Linked DNA regions of Homo sapiens: region 2 is linked to region 1. The links are contacts of gene promoters, found by promoter capture Hi-C in human tissues and cell types (Jung and others, 2019). All regions are on one chromosome and are shown on one strand. The core of a region is centred on a gene start or on the middle of the fragment in contact, and the rest is flanking DNA. Distances in the headings are between cores, read along the strand shown.

What was found. The method cuts DNA at HindIII sites, captures the fragments that hold promoters and counts their contacts. A contact is called where the count stands out against the background at its distance.
Region 2: a contact is called between a fragment that was not itself captured here and the fragment with the promoter of SNTG1 in region 1, in 2 of the 25 tissues and cell types used here (H1 embryonic stem cells and hippocampus).

What each region holds. Positions count from the first base shown.
Region 1 is chr8:49,907,609-49,915,023 of GRCh38, reverse strand. SNTG1 (syntrophin gamma 1) reads right to left here and starts at 3,617. Exons shown (of 19, transcript NM_018967.5): 1 at 2,793-3,617. RefSeq lists an enhancer at 3,768-4,712. The HindIII fragment of the contact is 7,737 bases long and covers 1-6,555 here.
Region 2 is chr8:49,963,664-49,971,078 of GRCh38, reverse strand. The region is part of intron 1 of SNTG1 (syntrophin gamma 1); the gene reads right to left. Among named protein-coding and RNA genes, the nearest start is that of SNTG1, 56 kb to the right of the region's middle. The HindIII fragment of the contact is 5,023 bases long and covers 2,402-7,415 here.

The DNA of each region.
Region 1 (7,415 bases), core at 2,368-4,867:
CCACAGGATGTTGTCTCTTCCAACACATGCTATGTGCTCACTCTGCTAAGCTAAATAGGAAGAAAACACCAAATAAGAGATCTCTCTCCATTTGAATTCTATTCTATAACACACTGTACAGATTTCTGGGAAGGTGAGATTACTATGGAAATAATTTCTAGCTTACAATATGCTTTTTTCTTTCCTAGTGGCTTTTGTGTTGCTTAACAGAACTAGGTGAGTAAGCAGGCTAGCTGCTTGGAATTTATAAATCTTTAAGTGGTCAAAAACAGCCAATTACTAAATATTAGCAATAGTCATTTTTTACTTTTATATTTTTTGATAAATGTTTGAACTTGATTGAAACCCAAGTAAATAACTCCAAAGGCAAACTGTGAGCATTAAAATCCAATACGATTTCATGGTATGAATAATTACATTAGAATATACAAGTAATATTTATATAGTCTATGCAAAAATTAATCAAGAAGTGTTTTTATAACATTTTGGAAGAAGGCAATTGAATGGATTCCAGGGCTCATTTTAAATTATCCTCTGGTCCTATATATACTTTACATTTTCTAGATTATGTAATCCCATCTCACCTTTCTCTTTTGAGTCTCAAATGTAAGCAACAGCCAACAACACTTAGTCTTATCCAATAAAACTTTTTTTTTTTTTTTAATGGGGAAAAGATAGTGTGTTTGGTACTCCCAAGACCTCATGCATCCTTTTTCTTTAGCAAAACAAAATAACTATCAAAGCAAATAGATGCCCTTAGTGGGGTACAGATATCCCTTAATAAAATGTTGATTTTTCTTTAAAGACAAGTGATTCTGTGCAATAATGAAGATTGGTTTCCACTACCCCCTTTTTGTTTGTTTGTTTGACTATCTACTTTACAATTAGAGATTAGCATTGGTAGGCATTAAGTTGCTTTCCCAAACTCTATCTCAATGTAAGGACATTTCCCTACAGATAAGGATTGACAAGGGTTTCCATGCAGTTTCATGAGTTTGGGGTGAATTAGAGTTACATATTTCTGTGACTAAATCTCCTAAGGGATTAGGCAAAGGTAACTTTCACTTTGTGAGATTTCAGTTACACATAGAGAAAGCCTGCCCCCTCTGCCCCTGAGGAGGGAACTGCGGCCATATACACAGAGGAGTGCTTCTTGAAACACATTCTCTGCTTACATTTTATGCCCTACTGACTAGGGGAGTCCCTCTGTGTTAATTAATTGACAGCCAAAATAATTGTCTAAAGACATGCTGTAACTCTCTTAAAATATGATTAAGTCTTCCATGTGATAATTTCACTTCCATACCTCTCCCACTGAGGAAAAAAAGGATTGTGTTAAGAGCACATTGTAGGTTTTCTGGGAAGGAATCCAAATCAATAATACATGTTTCTCCTCCTCAGATAATCATTCTTGACCTATATAGGGCAACGGAGCCCCCAAGGAGCTCAGTGACATAGATGCCTCTGCTCCTTTTCTGCTAAGCAAGCAGGTTCATGGTAAGTGGTGACAGTTAAGAATGATTTTTCCTCAGAGTAATTGCTACACTCAGCCAACATAAAACAAGAGGACATCACCCCACCAATGAATGCCACTGTAACGGCCTCCAATGATTTTTGTGTTAAAATTGAGAAGGAAGGTACGTATAGATATGCATTAGAGCCATTTTACTATCGTTACACACAACCAGTGAAATTAAAAGTAAAACCTAAAGATCTCCTGTAATTTTTCAAAGGGGTAGACTCTTTTCACAGAGTTGATTATGAATATCTCATCACATGTATTTACATGACTGTAAAATTCCATCCTTGCAAGTCAAAACTCTTCACTGAACTGAATGTACTCATTGGAATTGATCGGATTCTTAGTGAAATGTCAGGCACGGGTTACAAATTTGTGTAACTGCTTTTGCCCAGTGAACCCTTTTTATTAAAGCAGAATGCTTATCAAGGTCACTGTGAAAGATTGTAATTTTAAAGCTCCAGGGGAAAACTAGAAATAAGAATCAACAGAAAACAGATTTAATTAGCATTTTAAAGTTTATGGTTTTTCGGGAACCTACTGGTCCCTATCACTTTCTGGATTTCACTGACAAATGTATTTTGCAGAACTAATAAGTTAGAATGATTTTGAAATCCAGCTCTCCTAAAGAGGCACACTAAAGCTTCTCATTTTCTGCTTTCTGGCAGATCAGGTTTGAGAAAGCAATCTTGAGCTTTCAAAGGCTGGAAAGAGGGTGCTAAGTAAAAATATGAGTGTCTCCTTACGTAAGATCCTACAGGTGTAGGTATACTTGGAGGTTGGCATGGAGTGAGAAATCTGGTGTATATGTATACATGTATTTGTTCCCATGCATAGTTTAGTATATTATAACAATATAAAATATGTTAGAGGGCATGGTTAAACCCTCTCTATTTTAACTTTTTTAGTCTTGCATACTATGTAACACAGACAGGATCACTTTTTATGGCATACATAAGACAACAAAATTATCTTGCCAAACGATTGCATTAGTTTTGGGAAAAAATAAACAAGATATGCCAGATCCAAAAAGATATTAGATAAGCAATAAGAAAAATGGCCAGCTAAAAGTTTACTGTAATTATGTAAGGCAACATGTATGTTATTTTGATTCTTCTTGTCACACAATGATCCAGAAACAATTATTTTAAAACAAAATTGCTTGTCTCCTCGTTAACCCCAGAAAAAATTACACTGCTTATGATCTTTCTGTTAAACCATAAGACAAGTCATTAGAATTTTAAAAAACAAAAATAATAGCGCTATCACTTACCTGCCGAGCAATGAAATTAGATGTCTTTTCAGTCTCTCTAACGTAGAATTTTGAGTAGCTCTCCACCCTCTTTTCACAAAGCTATTTCCAAAACAGTTGCAATCCACTCAAGACCATTCTGTTTATTTCAAGAAGTGTGGACCTTTGAGCATTTCAACCCCTACCGCACGGCCCATGATTTCTCAGAGCTTCTAAGAACTTCGACTTTACTCTCCTCCAGAATTCCTCCCAGACCCCTATAGAAAAATGATTCTTGAAGTTGCTGCTGAGAGTTTAATCTGTGGAGCAAGAGTACTCCTCAGAGTCCTGTCCTTAGGTACAGCAGGTGTAGAGGGAGGGGTACTTTTCATCCATTAAGGAAGGGGGCCGGGAGGCGAGGGGGTAATAGGAGGCACCGCCTTTTAGCTGCGAGGAGCAAGTAGCCCAGCTGCCCGTGGCGACGACAGTGGCGGCAAGGACAGCGGCGGCGGCAGCGTAGTTCCGTCCCTGTGGCTGCAGCTCAGTCCGGAGACGCTGTCCATCCCCTCTGGTGCTGAAGTAAGGGGACGGGAGCCCCTAAGCGCAGGTCCAGGTCGCACTTTCCTCCACCAGCGAATCCAAGCAGCAGCTTCCTTGTCTTCCGCCCTAGCCTTCTCCCCTCCGGTTCTTTTTTTTTTCTTTTTTCTTTCTTTTTTTTTTTTGTAGGGGCTAATTGTTTCTCCAAATTAACAGTCTCATACTTATTTGGTGACAACGTTTCTGGAAAAACAGGAATCCCTGGGAAATAACATCTGAGCCTCCCCTGACTTTTCAGTGGCCCTGCACGAGTTTCCTAATGCCAGAAATGAAAGAAAACGCACGCACAGGGGCGCGCACATACACGCACGAGAGAGGCAGAGAGAGAGAGAGAGGAAGAGAGAGAAAAAATATATAGATTTGTACCGTGGAAAATCCAGAGCTTCTTTGGAAAGCTCGTGGATCTTTAATTACATAAGATGAAAAGGAATATTTTGGAAAACTCCGCAATCTTGATTACCAATTAAGGGGACCACATTCAAATTTTGAGAAACCCAATTTGAAATTCCTAAATTAAACCCAGTGAAGATTCTTAGACCCTCCACGCGGAAACGATAGGTTATTGTTAAAATTTTAAAAGACAGAGAATGAAAGAATGAAAAAGACAGGAAAAAGCATCTGCACTCGGCTACCTTTTAAAACGCTGCTGAATTGGATCGGGATCGTTGCAGAGCCTCTCAGAGGATCCGGCGAACGCAGCTCCTGTGAGTGTCAGCGCTGAGCTCAGCGAGCAGGCAGCTTGGAGGCCCAGGGCAGTGCTAGCGAGTCGCCCACAGCCTAGGCTCCTGCAGTGGGGGCAGAAAACGGCTTATTTCACAAAGGACGGGATAAAGAAGGCACAAAGACAGTCAGAGGGCTCGACAATCTCTGCCTTTGTAAAGCCAGAGCAAAGCCCAATTTACGTTGTTTTTTTTGTTGGCTTTTCAGCCCATTTTCCCTCTGGTCTCCCACGCTGCCCCCTCGCCTCCCTACTCCGGAATCCGCGCTCTCCCGGGCCTTGCAGGCTCTTCACTCCCGCTCTTGGCAACTGGCTGACAACGAGCATAAAGAAGGGTATGGGTGCGTGGTCCCGAGTGCTGTCACCCAGGGCTCAGCCACCCACACTCGGCAACGGGTGCAGACGCCAGTGAACTGAGACGGGAAGTTGAAATACATAACGTTGAAACTGTTGGAAAACTGGTCAAAACCAGGGCCATGTGGACCTTTGAAACTATGTGGAGTAAAAGGGGAAAATGGAAAGAGCGAGACTGTAACACCGCCCGCCCTTGCAGACTCCTAACTTGTGCAGTGTAGATTTCTGCACAAGGAGGTTATTGATAGACATGAGAGGAAATTCGAGAAAGACTGGTGAGGGGCGCTGGTGTGTGTGGTGGGGACGGGGGTCCGGGAGGGGCGGGGCGCAACACTAATTTCTCCCGGGCTGTGGGAAGGGGCCGGACGCCTGCTCCTGGCCTCCCTTCCCCGGCGACTTCTCAGGTTCTTCTTCCTGTTCTGACACTACAGGGAAGTCCTAGACGTTGTGCTTTCCTCCCACGCTTGCTTCCATCAAGGATTAGAGCGCGTTCCCGCTGGTCTGGAACCATCCATTCCAGGTAGGGGATCTTCCCTCCCGGGGACATTGCGCTCTCCAAGCACCGGCCTGCGGCGCGCGCGGGGGACGGGCGAGGAGGCGGCACAGCCAGTGGAGTTCCAGTGGGCTCCCTGGAGGAGAAACGTTACTGAGCCGGGAATCACTCGGGACGGAAAACCAAACAGGCCGCGTATTTACTCACAGGAAAAGGCCAGACTTTGGTTGGACTTTGAGCCATTTTGCTGCAGCAGCAACGGCTTTATTTCCCTGGGGTGGCCACCAGCCGCCACCGCGGCTCGCGAGCTCCGGCTGGAAGGGGCCGCGCTGTGCTCCGCACATTGCAGGCCGCGGTCGCTGTGTGGAGCTGCACACGCAGGAAACGGTCGCCGTGGAACGAAGCCCTTGGTCAACTTTCTCTAACAGTCTTTTTTAACAGAGGATCTATTAAAGGTTGTGATTCTCTCTAAAACCGTGTTTGGGGAATCCATCTGACCTCACGGAGACACACAAACCTAAAAAGAGAGTATCTGCTGCTTGAGGCTAATTTTTAAGGGGGTCTTTTGCTTTTCAGTCCATGTGAAAACGTTGCTTAAGGTTATGGTAAATGAAGTTTCCCTTTTCCTTAGACAAATGTGGTGAAACACGTGCTTCTTTTTTCTGCAGAAACAATACCTGTCGTGTGTGTTTCAGAAAATGCCCCCTTTTTGTTAGATGATTAAAACAAACCCCCCGTGTGAGGGTTATGCTAATCAGGGGCTATCCGTCCTTGTCAGCAAAGAAGCTTTTCTCTGCTGTATTTAATTCTATGCTTACTAAGGTTGATTTAATTGATTGTTTAAATTATTTTATCAGGACATACGGAAACATGAATAACCACAGAAAATCAACACACCAAATAAGAGCATTTAAATGAAGCACAGAGTACAAAGATGTTGCTAATTAAAAACATATGCACTTGATTATTCAGACCTAGAAGAACAGATTCTTTTCTTCCTGAGCACTGATTGAGTTTTATGCGGTCTCTCTCAATCTTTCTATCCCCCTCCCTCTGTCCTGCCAGTAAAAGAAAACAGAAACAGTTGATTAATGTGAACTGACAGTCCCAGTATGATTATGATAGTTTGATGTCTTTTCTTCAAGAAGCAAAATCCACTTTATATTTTTTCTCATCAAGTTGTATAACCAGTTATGGAAATCAAGATGATGAAAATTAAATACCGCCTAACATCTGATGCTACAAATGAATATAAATGAAGTACAACATAAAAAAACCAAGGGACAAATAAGCTGAGGTGAATTAAAGAATTATGTTAAGAAATTTCACCCCGGGAGCAGATTTTCCAAAGTCTATTTTAAATGATTTTTTAAAAAAATTCTTAATTTAAGTTGCCATGATTTTAAAAATGTAAATATAGTAAAATGTGAATATAAATAATCAAAACAATACATGAAGCATTATATGCACAAGAAAATGTAGTAACCTAGCATCATTACTGTGAATTCTAAACTGGCTCATTCAATCCCTCTCTATAAAACTAGGATATAATTCCCCTCTAGTCCACTCTACACAGTGCAAAAATCTTAGAAAACATAATAGTTTGTGGAACATTTTGTAAACAATTGGAAGTCCTTTGGGTCAGGAAGTTTGAAATGTAAGTTGAAACCGCCATACAATATGATCTAAATGAATCGTCATTATACACTATGTGAAACGTTGGCTGTGTCACTTCCGGAAGCCTCCTATTTTCACATCTCATTACTATATGTAAAATGGTGATAATAATCATAATTTTTGCCAGCCTCATAAACTGTCATATGCAAAAATCAACATATGTAAAAACTTTGTATATCTTGTATATTTCTACAAAAATAGGTAGTAGCACCTATCATCTGTGGAGTATCATTTGCTCACAATTTTTAGACCTCAATTGAAAAACTGGTGGTTCCATTTAAAGGTTCTATTTTTTGTTAATATATATTTCTAATTATTTCTGTGTTTACTTCATGTTTCCTAATAGATATAGAGCTGTAATAGGCCTATACCCATATCTGAACCCTTTTCAATTAACAGTTTTAACATCTTCAGTATAATTTTGAGCTGCTTTTTTAAATTGTGTCCAAGTACAAATAAATATTACATATCTATTACCAATTATTTCTGAATTGGAACAGTGATCCTATTTTAAAATCTCCTTCTATGGGTTTTCAGATGAAATGTTACTGAGTTGTATTTTCTTTTGCCCCCTTTGAATATAAGATCCCTTACTCAATCATACCTCTACTCAGCTAAGGAGTTCTATTTTGCTGAATTGTGGTCAGATAAATCTTGAGGACTTCATGGGTGTTTGCACTTGTATAAGTTGAACTTAGTTAACCTCAGTAGCAGGCAAAAGTAGATGGAAATTTGTACTCAAATGACTGAGGTACAAAAATCTGTCCCTCAGATTAGTTTAATTTTTCTTTTGCGGGAGGTAACAAGTGGCTGCCAGAGAAGCTTA
Region 2 (7,415 bases), core at 3,664-6,163, 55 kb before region 1:
AAATTCTCTTTTTTGGTTGTGTCTCTGCCAGGCTTTGGTATCAGGATGATGCTGGCCTCATAAAATGAGTTAGGGAGGATTCCCTCTTTTTCTATTGATTGGAATAGTTTCAGAATGAATGGTACCAGCTCCTCCTTGTACCTGTGGTAGAATTCATCAGCCAGACTCTTTTCATCTGAACCCAGCTGGGAGTTGAGTCCTGTGTGCATTCATAGCACCACTGGTGTCCCAGATTACCCATACTTTAAGTCAGCTTTGCTTAGATCTGGCATCATTCCCTAACCAGAGCTGCCAACTCTTCAAGGTGGGAGAAAGGAGTCTCTAGCATTAAAAATAAGTGGTTTGCCAGTCTCACTAGCTGCAGAATTTAGGACGACAGAATGTTCTTCTCTAGAGACATGCGAATTAGAGCTACGTAAGTTATAACCTTCTCTGACCCTCTACGTGGTCAGTGATCTTATGGAATAGAGGACAAATAAAAACATCTAAATATAATTTGGATTCCAAGGGAGGAAATACCTATTTCTTAAATGAAATGAGTGATTTGCTATTAATTATTTTGGAAGCTGCAGGGAAGAAACAATAATCTAAAACAACTGCATTAGTCCCTGGAAGAGAAGCACTGTTCACATCAGACAGGGTCACTAAATGCTAGATGTTGAATGAATTAAAAAGAGTGCGGCTAAACACACATGCATTACTGAAAAAATTAAAAACTACAACAGGAAGTACATGTGTTTCTAAAACAAAGCAACATATTTCAGTGTATGTGTCTGTTTGCAGCACTACCCAGTGGGCATAAACAATTCTTGAAGCTGTTTGTTGGTGCTGAAATTTCCTCGTGATGATCTCGTAGCACCTCTTACTCATCAAATAGGCACTGTGAAATTTTGCCAGATGGTGAGATACAGAGATATTACTGGAGTTGTCAAATCACTGAAACCCTTTAGCAGTAAGAGGCCAACCAGAGTAAAAGTTGCATTCTTTACGCCAATCCTATTCTCAAGTCACCCTGAGATTGGTCTAACTGTTTCCTTAATAAGTATTTGTATTGGCAATTTGAGTAAAATAAGAAATAAAAACATGAGACAGTCTTGTTTTATAAGGATTCAATAGCACACCAGCCTGAAAACACACACACACACACACACACACACACAGGTTTTTTATTCCACCATCAAAAAGCAGCATGAATCTATAACAGCATTTTGAGTGTGGCTGAGGAAGAGTGAAGAAGAAATAGCAACTTTTCAAATTCTGTAACTTGGAACATACACCATGATGTCATTGTTGTTTTGACAGTGAGGGTATCTCTCTTCTTTAACCTGACCCCACCCTACATGATCATATGTAATGGATGTAACTTGAAAAACTAAGTGAATGGCGAGGCATGGTGACTCACTCCTGTAATCTGAGCACTTTGGGAGAACGAGGCCGGTGGATCACCTGAGGTCAGGAGGTTGACACCAGCCTGACCAACATGGTGAAACCCCGTCTCTACTAAAAATACCAAAATTAGCTGGGCATGGTGGTGGGCACCTGTAATCCCAGTTACTTGGGAGGCTGAGGCAGGAGAATTGCTTGAACATGGGAGGCAGAGGTTGCAGTGAGCCGAGATTGCACCATTGCACTCCTGCCTGGGCGACAGAGAGAGAGTCCATTTCAAAAAAAAAAAAAAAAAAAAAAAAAAAGATTAAATGAATTAAAATGTGTATTTGCTTTTGAGAATTTTTGTAAATTCTACAACTTCCCATAAAGTAGTTTATGGCATCCTGTGGTGAAGCAAATCCAAGGTTTCCTCGCATTAATGCCTCTCTCTGAATTATTAAAGACTCATAAATAATTAAAAGAAAAAAATTTAAAAAGTAAACCAAGCCTCTTAAAAAATTATTCACCACGTTATTAAAAAGAAAAATAATCAATGCAGAAGATTTTGAGTTAAGCAGCACACATACAAGCCACCAATCCATTAGTTACTTTGCTGTCACCTAATCTGTCTATCATTCTGCCTCCAATTCATTTTACACACTAATTCCCAGTTAATATTTCCAAAGCTCAAAAATATTCTCTCTCTGTCCCCTTCCTCCAGACTTTATCCAGACTCCTTTACTTGGCACTCAAGTCTCTGGAGTTTTAAATGCAGCCTGAAATATATTATTCTGCCTCAGTATCGCCCTTTGCCTGTAGTGCTCATCAGTCCAAGGGAAAGATCTGTCATCCCCAGTTCTATCCGGAATGTGTCTGCCTTTTGGTTTTCTGGAACTCTGGAACACAGCGCCTGTAAATAATTATGATTGGATTGCAGGAGATAAATGGCTTCTTGCTTGCCTGGGAGGTCCTCTCTTTCATGGAGAAGTCTTCATTATTCTTCCAGCTATAGCTTTGGTCTATCTGGAAGAATAAGGGTCTATCTCTTTGGTATAACCTGCATCCTGAAGCTACATCTGATCCTCCCAAATTGATATTATTTCCTCTGAATAAGGAGATGTCTTTTGCATGTAGAAACCTGGAAACTTTAAACTTTATTACAAGTTCTTGCCCTTATCCTTTCAGTATTGCATCTAGTGATCTGGATCTTTCCACTTTAGATCTTATGAAAATTTTGGAACTGAAAAATTAATGCAATGTCAAGACATTGTGCCAACCTAATGGGTAAAATATTTTTGCTTGTGTTCTTTATTGGTAATTCTCAAGTCACAAGAATCAAAAGTCAAAAAAGTTTAATGATCTTTACATGAGACAAAATACACCATAATTGGGGGGGAAGAGAAGGTGCTGAAATTTCATAAGCAAATATATTGTGTTTTGGTAAGTACTGGAGACTTTGGGGGCACATTTTAAATCATCAGATTCAATGAAGGATGTGGGCAATGGCTTTGGACACAAAGAAATTGGAAGAACAAAATACATTTTTCCTTCTGCTCTGCCCAAAATCTTTCCTTCCAATGGTATATATTGACATATGGTGAAAAGACCATTGTATTTACTTGCAGAAAAAAAAACAAAGACTGTTCACCAGGTATAGAGTAAGCATAACTGGACTTGGAAGATGAATAGGGTGATTCTCTGAAGTACTGCAAGACACTGAAGGATAGGACCAAGACTGAGGAGAATACCCTCGCTCTTGTATCTGTGTAGAAAAGTGCACAGTCCTGGGGACAGGGAGGAAGCTGCTGTAAAGCCAGATTAATTTGATAATCATGATCTTAAACTACAAATGTCAGTAGCGAGATGTAATAAGATGCTGATGGCATCTTATTATTTGCTTAAGACCTTTCCATTAAATGCCAGCCTAGTAATTAATTCTTCTTAATGGAACTTTTCACTGCTTTAATCTCACTTTCAGTGATAATTAACACTTATCAATTCTCACTACAAATGAAAAAGCTATTTCAGAGAAAGGGTTGAACTCAGACACCTGGCACTCTTATGGTGAAGGCAGGTTGAGAAAAGGCTAAAAATTATATTTACTGAACTTTTTTTCCTGTCCAAATTAACCAATTCGAATTAAAACAAAGTTTATATATTATAATAAATTAATAAAAATTGAGAACAAAAATCAATGAAAAGTGAAGATTTTATCAGATGAAAAACTTGCATCACCACGTATGTGCAATGAGCAAATGTATCTACCAAAGCAGAAAGTAAACAATACAGAAAAGTTCACAGTCTCATGTCTACAGAAGTAGATTTTATAATAGATAAAACAAGATGAAACAAATGGCTGTGTCACATGTGACAAAACACCATCCTGAGAACAGACTGTAAGCTCCCTGAGAACAGGCTTTCTGCATGCTAAGAGGACAGACTCCAAAGCCAGACAGGCATTCTTCAAGCCCCTTTTTCTTGCCATTAAACATGTGACTTTGGGGAAGAAATAACCTATACTGTACATCTGTTTTTTCATTTGTGAAATAAAAATCACAACTGGCCCAGCTTCGAAGGACTGTTATGAGGATGATAAAATACTTACGCCCTTGGGACAATGCCTGGCCAATAGTGAGTATAAGCTATTGTTATTATTCCTGGCATTTTTTCTAATAGAGTGCTCTCCAAATAGTAAAGAAAGCACAAAAATATTTTCTTGACATTGTTTATAGATTATTGAAAAAAATCTTGCTAGCAAATTTGTGATATGGCACTAAATTTACATAAACATCTATTTGCATTGCAATATAACCATCGAACAATTATTTATTATTTAATATATGCTAGATATACACAAAGTAGCACATAAAAATATGCCTATATAGTAAAGGAAATAATTTCACACGTCATCATACCCATTCTTGGTTACAAATTCACTACCAATGGAATAAAAGTAAAATAAAAATAAATTATTTCCATAGGTTAAATATGTGTTTTAGTCAAAAAGACTGGAATAGGCTGGGCGTGGTGGCTGACACCTGTAATCTCAGCACTTTGGGAGGCCAAGGTGGATGGATCATTTGAGGTCAGGAGTTTGAGACCAGCCTGGCCAACATGGTGAAACCCCGCCTCTACTAAAAATACAAAAATTAGCCAGATGTGGTAGCGGGTGCCTGTAGTCCCAGCTACTAGGGAGGCTAAGGCAAGAGAATAGCTTGAAGTTGGGAGGCTGAGGTTGCAGTGAGCAGAGATTGCACCACTGCACTCAAGCCTGAGGAACAGACCGAGACTCTGTCAAAAAAAAAAAAATTAATTAATTAATTTAAAAAAAGACTGGAATAAGCTATAGACTTTTTTTAAACAGGAAAAACAAAAATGGTAACTAAACACTTAAAGTACTGACTGTATTTCCCGTACAAATCAACAAATTTACAATGATTTTATGGACTAATAACTATAAATATACCTTTTTACAAAGACAGAAACTGAGGCTTGAAAGAAGCAACTTTACCAAAGCTTCAAACCTAATTAGACAGGCTCCAAACTCTATTTTTTTCTCAGATTTTCCCAATAGAGACAAGAAAAATAGTCCAAGAGAGACTTGAGCAAGTAGAAATTGAATCAGAAATAGAAACCAGATATATTCTAGAGATGAACATTACATGCTGAGTATACTTGCAGCAAAAAGTCATAACAAGGAAGATGCACAGAGCTTAGTTGGGTAGATGAAGGGGAGGCATAAGAAAGTCCAGCATAAAACACTGAAACAGCAGGAACTCAAAAATGGACTCCCTTTAATTTCCATATAGACTGAAAGAAAAGGTAAAATGAAAGGAGATGAAAGATCACAGGAGGAAGTTAGAAAAACACTGAATTAGTAGAAATGACATTTGGGAAAAAATAGATAAAAGAGGAGGATGATAACTAAAATTTGTAATATGCCATTTGGTTTTAAATATCTTTGAAATTGCAAAAGCCAGAGTGGGCCCTATTTGTGTTATTTTCATGAAAAACATTCGGTTATCTAAAAATGGAACATTTCTGATGGGGCTAGAGAGGTTGGAGCAATCAAGGCGCATGACAACAACCACATTAAGCAGCTAAAAGCAACCCAGTGTCTGCTTATGGAGATTTCACATTTCCCTAGAGACTATTGTCCTGGTGTCCAGAGCAGGATTCTCTTGAGCTTCCACTCATAAGCCCAATTATTCATTTCTGAATTCATTTTCTGTTTGTTAAGGTGAGTAAGCATGAGAATCAAAGTGAAATGTCCTTGAGAGGAGAACAGACTGATTAGACAGTGAGTTGTTGCATTAGCAAATATATCCAGGCCTCAGTCACTGTATACATATCCAGAAGTTCATAAAGAAACTCATATAAAAAGGAGTATTACATTCCATTAACATCATCGTCATCACCTACTGAGTGCCTCCTTCTGTACTAGATTTGTTAGAATCCACAGGAGAACTGTATCCTTACTGCTAAATTGATGTGTAGATTGTCACAGTTGACTTTTATCACCCTCATAGGTATAAGCAGAATTAATGGCAAATATCAGTGATAGCTAAATCATGCCAATTTAATAGACGAGTGTGGTCAGTGCCAGAGCGTCATACTAGACATTTCATGAAACAGTGGTATCATTTCAATGTTTTCTATTTTAACTGAAAATAAAGGTCAGAGATCCCATGCTCTATCCTGTTCGGTATGCCATTAATTTTAACTTGCCTTAATAACTACTGTATAAATAAACTCTAATTTATATTAAATTCTATTTCTAATGTGGTTTGATAATACTTAATGTGCCATACATGGCTATCAATTATAGAAAAAATGAAATACACTAAACTTCAAAATTATACTGAGAATAATTCCATCTATCTTGGAGGTAACAAAGACAATTTTTGGAAGAGATCACTAATGAATACCTACTATCATGGAACTGGATAAATATCAAAATGTTGGCTAAAAATGGAAAATAGAATAAAAATGTAGAAATGAGAAAAGGGGAAACTTTGTTTCAACAAATATGCCTAAACAAGGTGAAAGTGAGTAGAACGCACCTGTTCCAGAGGTTTCCCACATGGGAAGAAAGAAGGACTAATCCAACTGTCAGTAAGTATTTGCCAGAGTCCTCTAAAGAAACAGAACAGATAGAGTATATGCCTGTGCCTGTTTACCTATTATTCACCTATGTATATAATCTCTACCTATCTGCCTAGTTATCATCTACCTGTCTATCAATCTACCTAGCTATCTATGTAGAGAGAGAGAGAACTAGAGAAACATTGGGATTGATTTGAAGGTATTGGCTCATGTGATCATGCAACTGTGGAGAATGACAAGTCTAAAATCTGCAGGGTCAGCTGCTAGTTGCAGACCCAGGGCAGAGATGACACTGCAGCTCAAGCCTGAAGGCAGTATGTGGCAAGACTCCCTCCTCCTTGTGGGGAGCCAGTCTTATCCTTCCAAGGTCTTCAACTGATTAGATGTGGTCATCCACTTGAAGAGTAATCTACTTTGCTCCAAGTCTACTGATTCAAATATTAACCTCATCTAAAAAATACCTTTACAGGAACATCTAGAATAATGTTTAACCAAATATCTAGGTACTGTGGCCTAGACAAGTTGACACATCAATCACACTGAGTGCCTACTATAAACAAGGTGCTGTGACTTTTGTGAGGCATACATGTTATTTAATTTAACTTGGGTGGAGTTGAAAATAACTTCTGGGAATTTAATGGATTTGATGCAAGCTATTTTTCTCATTTTGAGCTTTATGTATAAGTTCTTAAATATCAGACATTGATGAGAAGCTGAAGAAAAAGTCTTTCTAAATTGAAAAGATTTACAAACACGTTTTATCATATTGGCTATGGAAAACAGAGAAGAAAATGAAGTCTCTGTGAAGTTCTATTTTCATGAAGTTTTAAAACTCACTGAAATAAAGTGGGAGCTATTCATAGCATTGCTACATGCATTTGAGATTAAACAATCATCAGAAGGTACAGTGCAAAGACCAGTAGCTTGTAGTAAAGGAAACC